2 separate regions of the Homo sapiens genome follow, and region 2 is linked to region 1. The links are contacts of gene promoters, found by promoter capture Hi-C in human tissues and cell types (Jung and others, 2019). All regions are on one chromosome and are shown on one strand. The core of a region is centred on a gene start or on the middle of the fragment in contact, and the rest is flanking DNA. Distances in the headings are between cores, read along the strand shown. Region 1 holds the start of OR7G2 (olfactory receptor family 7 subfamily G member 2). Region 2 has its middle 8.7 kb from the start of OR7E24.

Region 1 (2,669 bases), core at 94-2,593:
GCTAATTTTTGTATTTTTAGTAGAGACGGAGTTTCACCATGTTGGTCATTGTGGTCTTGAACTCTTGACCTCGTGATCCGCCTGCCTCAGCCTCCCAAAGTGCTGGGATTACAGGCGTGAGCCACTGTGCCCAGCTAGTTTACATGTAAGACCCAAACTTGCAGATGGCTTACAGGTTAAGGGTTTTTTGTTTTTGTTTTTGTTTTTTTTTTTGAGATGGAGTCTTGCTCTGTCACCCAGGCTGGAGTGTAGGGACACGATCTCAGCTCACTGCAACCTCCACCTCCTGGGTTCAAGCGATTCTCCTGCCTCAGCCTCCCGAGTAGCTGGGACTACAGGTGCCTGTCACCACGCCTGGCTAATTTTTGTATTTTTAGTACAGACAAGGTTTCACCATATTGGCCAGGCTGGTCTCAAACTCCTGACCTCAGGTTATCCACCCACCTCAGCCTCCCAAAGTGCTGGGATTACATGCATAAGCCACCACGCCCAGCATCAAATCTCATCTCTACTAAAAATACAAAAATTAGCCAGGTGTGGTGGCACTCGCCTGTAATCCCAGCTACTCTGGAGGCTGAGGCACAAGAATCACTTGAACCCAGAGGCAGAGGTTGCAGTGAGCTGAGATGGCGCCACTGCATTCCGGCCTGGGTGATAGAGTGAGACTGTCTCAAAAAAAAAAAAAAAAAAAAAAAAAAAAGAATAAGAAAGAAAGAAAGAAGAAAAAAGAAAACCTTCATGTTGGTTATACCTGTCTTCTGGCACAGCTGCTGGCATTCACCTACGCAGGCTTTCAGCTTGCTTACCTATGCTTGCAGCTTGATTTTTCAGGCTACTTTTTGCCTGAAAAGAAATGATTTGGGGGCTGCTTTTTATTAAAAAGAAAAACCTTACCCAGGACTTCTGTACCCTCACTAACTGCCTAAATAATTTCTTTTTAATTCATATGCTATTATTAGGTTAATTTATAGCTACTTGTGGCAACAGCAAGCAGTTTTATGAGATGAATGCATAGTTCAAAGGAGGGGAGGAGGGGTGTGGTTTCTGTCTCATTTTAATGTCTTTCCGGGTCTGACAATGAAGAGAACTCACATTCTTCAGATCAAAATCCTTTTTTTTACTAGACGAATGGTATGTGTTCTGGGAGCAAGATTCGTGAAGTGGAGGTGAGCAGAAACAATGGAGAGATATGGATGGTGTACACGTGGCCTCAGGGGACAGGGACTCAGCCATCCCGAATTCCTCACTCCTCTAGTCTTGGTCTTTAAGGATGTGCACTCCTGGGATCAGAACGATGGTAAAATAGCCAGTGTAATGAGGAGCGTTGGATATTGAGGTCCCAGGGATATAGACAGTGCAACAAGTCAGGCTGTAAGCACCTCACTGAACATCTCTTACCCAGCTCGGAAGCTGCATCAGAACCTCCTTCCAGACATGATATTTTTGACCAGGACTCGAGTCTGTCTGCACTTCCTGAGGATAGATCATCCTCTGCAATATCCATGTGAGTTGTTGAGCATCATTTTTGTTGAAGCCAATCAGTTAACCCAAAGTCCTTTAGTTAATTAATGCTTTGGAAATGAGGGCAGGTGGTTTTGTTTTTTGGGGTTTTTTTAGAGACAAGGTCTCACTCTGTTGCCTGGAAGGAGTGTGGTGACTCGATCATAGCTCACTGCAGTCTTGAATTCCTGGATCAACCAATCCTTCAGCCTCAGCCTACTGAGTAACTGGGACTACAGGTGCATGCCATTACACTTTGCAAATTTTTAAATTTTTTTTGTAGACACAGGTTCTCACTACGTTGCCCAGGCTGGTCTTACACTCCTGGCCTCTTGTACTCCCGCCTCAGCCTCCCAAAGGACCCGGATTATAGATGTGAGCCACAGTGCCTGGCTATATAAAGCTTTTAAAATGCAACACAATGCCATTGTTATTATTTGGAAGAATAATATCAAATATAATGAAAGGTATAGAAGAATAATATAGATCAAGTGTGTGTACTGGTTCCCCTAGGGAAGGGAAAAAAAATCAAAAACATGAAGCGGTGGTTTTGAAATATGCACTTTTTTTTTTTTTTTTTTGAGATGGAATCTTGCTCTGTCACCCAGGCTGGAGTGCAGTGGCATGATCTCGGCTCACTGCAACCTCCGCCTCCCAGGTTCAAGCGATTCTCCTGTAGAGACGGAGTTTCACCATATTGGTCAGCTGGTCTTGAACTCCTGACCTCAGATGATCCACCTGCCTCAGCCTCCCAAAATGCTGGGATTACAGGCATGAGCCACCATGCCCAGCCTCAAATACACACTTTATTGCAATAAAAATATTTTTTACTTTTTGCAATAAAAATATCTAATCAAGGATGGTGAATTGTGTGAATTTTTTTTTTTTTTTTTGAGACACAGTCTCCCTCTGTCACCCAGGCTGGAGTGCAGTGGCACGATCTCGGCTTACTGCAACCTCTGCCTCTCAGGTGCAAGCGATTCTCCTGCCTCAGCCTCCCAAGTAGCTGGGGTTACAGGCGTGCACCACACCACCACACCCAGCTAATTTTTTTGTATTTGTAGTAAAGACGGGGTTTCGCCATATTGGCCAGGCTGATCTCAAACTCTTGATCTCAGGTGATCCACCTGCCTCAGCCTCCCAAAGTGCTGGGATTATAGGCTTGAGCC
Region 2 (2,669 bases), core at 52-2,551, 130 kb before region 1:
ATCCTGGTTTGAGGCCAGGATTTCAAGACAAGCCTGAGTCACATAGAGAGACCCCCTAACTGGGTGTGATGATGCATGCCTGTAGTCCCAGCTACTTGGGAGACTGAGGAGGATCACTTGAGCCCAGGAGTTCAAGATTTCAGTGAGCCACTGTACTCCAGCCTGCACAATACTGTGAGACACTGGCTCAAAAAAAAAAAAAAAAATGCCAGAGCAACATAAAATTGTAAGCATTCATTACCTTTCTGCCACCATGCATTGGGGAAAGTGGATCCCTCAGCTGATGCTGACCATTGGCAGACAGGATGGTGTGTGTGGAGATGGCGGGAGGGTCTTAGGGATGTGGGATGAACCCTGACACCATCTACTACCCCATCCTTCACTGCAGACCCAGTTCTACCAGTTCTCATCAAAAGGGTGAACTGCATCCCAAACACAGTCCACATTCTGTGGCTTCCATTCCTGAAGACATCTCCAGAAAGTCTCAGAAGAAAATTAAACTATATGAGAGAACAAATCTTTTCTATCGTATAATTATTACATGTTCTACAATCTGGGGTTAGATCATAAAACTGCAATTATGGGAAATAAAGGTCAAATAAAGAAGGAAAGAAAGAAAGACAAGAAGGAAGGAGGGAATGAGAGAAGAAAGAGGAGGGAATGAGGGAAGAAAGAGGAGGGAATGAGGGAAGAAAGAAGAGGAAAGGAAGAAAGTAAAAAAGGAGGGAGGGAGGGAAGAAAAGGAATAATCACAAAGAAGGAAGCAACGTCTCAGTTATTCTAGGCAGTTCATTACTATGAATCATCAGAACAAACAAGCTTACAAATCTACATTCCTAATTTGATGTGAAAAATCACATCACTGTTCTTATGAAATAAAGGATAGCAAAGTTGGAGTGTGGTCTCAACGTCAAGTTGCCAGGTTATAGTTCACCTCTATCTGCTTCTTCCTTTGTGGAACAAGGTGAATGAGAAAAGACATGTCAAAGAAATGTTTTCAGGGCCAACTGTGGTGGCTCATGCCTATAATCCCAGCACTTTGGGAGGCCGAGGCAGGTGGATCACTTGAGGTCAGGAGTTTGAGATCAGCCTGGCCAACATGGCAAAACCCCATCTCTACTAAAAATACAAAAAAAATTAGCCAGGTGTGGTGGTGCACACTTATAATTCCAGCTACTTGGGAGGCTGAGACACAAGAATTGCTTGAACCCGGGAGGTGGTTGCCGTGGGCTGAGATAGCGCCATGGCACTCCAGCCTGGGTGACAGAGTGAAACTGTGTCTCAAAACAAAACAAAACAAAAACAAAAAGAAAGAAATGTTTTCAGGATTAAATAAAGCCATACATGTAAAGCAACAAGCACAATCCTAAAAGGGAAACACGTTGCCTTGACTATTGTATGATTTTCATCCAATTTCTTCCAGAGGAAACAAGAACACAACCAAGTTTAGGTGAAGGGTGCTAACATGCAAATGGGTAATTTTTGAGGAAAGCATGTCATCATATCAGCACTCGATATGATAAGTGTTTCAAACAACACGTGAGAACTCTCAAGAGTGGCTCTAAGAAAATGGACCAAAGATGGAACTTTAAAGACTGTATATAAAACGGAAAAGTTAGAAGGAAATTACCAAGGGAGTTACTGAGAGAACCTAAAGTAAAAACATGTAGCAAAAGCCAAATCACAAGTGTTTTGGGAAGAGTAAAAATGAAGCATGTGATTTTCAGGAGAAAAAGAGCCAGGATATTTATTTCTTGTTTTCTTTTAGTTTTGTAGTTGTTGTTTTTGAGACAAAGTCTCACTCTGTCGCCCAGGCTGGAATGCAATGGCGCAATCTCAGCTCACTGCAACCTCTACCTCCCAGATTCAAGCAATTCTCCTGCCTCAGTCTCCCAAGTAGCTGAGATTACAGGCACCCACCACCACACCCAGCTAATTTTGCATTTTTAGCAGAGATGGGGTTTCACCACATTGGCCAGGCTGGTCTTGAACTCGTGACCTCAAGTGATCCACCCACCTCAGCCCCCAAAGTGCTGGGATTACAAGCATGAGCCACCAAGCCTGGTCGAGCCGGGATATTTAAATTCACATTTGCCTAATGGACCTACAACATCCACTTAGTTCTGAGACCTTGATCTGTCATGGACAAGAGGCTGGTCTGCTGAGGAACTGAATGTTCATGAGCAGGGCTCTGTCAAACATAATCTTGCCTTTGTGACCTTTTTATAAACCCAATGATCTCTCTGACAACCACCACTTAGACAGATTGAACCCTAGGCTAACACATTCTGCTGCCAAGTGGATGTTATTAATAAGGTGTTTCACAGCACAACAAACTAAACCCTTCCAAGAACAAACTCGATGCAAAGGAAAGTAGATTGAACCCTACTTTCTGCCATGTACAAAAATCAAATCAAATAAAAAACAGATCAACAGGCCTGGCGCAATGGCTCATGCCTGTAATCCCAGCATTTGGGTGGCCGAGGCGGGTGGATCACTTGAGGTCAGGAGTTCAAGACCGGCCTGACTAACATGTGAAACCCCATCTCCATCAAAAATACAAAAATTAGCCAGGCGTGGTGGCGGGCACCTGTAATCCCAGCTACCTGGGAGGCTGAGGCAGGAGAATCACTTGAACCCGGGAGGCAGAGGTTGCAGAGAGCCGAGAT

The links. Contacts are between HindIII fragments. The study calls those that stand out against the background at their distance.
Region 2: a fragment that was not itself captured here is called in contact with the fragment with the promoter of OR7G2 in region 1 in 4 of the 25 tissues and cell types used here (H1 embryonic stem cells, adrenal gland, dorsolateral prefrontal cortex and 1 more).

Annotation. Positions count from the first base shown.
Region 1 is chr19:9,106,149-9,108,817 of GRCh38, reverse strand. It overlaps OR7G2 (olfactory receptor family 7 subfamily G member 2), which reads left to right and starts at 1,343. Exons shown (of 2, transcript NM_001005193.2): 1 at 1,343-1,504. The HindIII fragment of the contact is 11,921 bases long and covers 1-2,669 here.
Region 2 is chr19:9,240,882-9,243,550 of GRCh38, reverse strand. It overlaps a transcript of OR7E24 not described here. Among named protein-coding and RNA genes, the nearest start is that of OR7E24, 8.7 kb to the left of the region's middle. The HindIII fragment of the contact is 9,125 bases long and covers 1-2,669 here.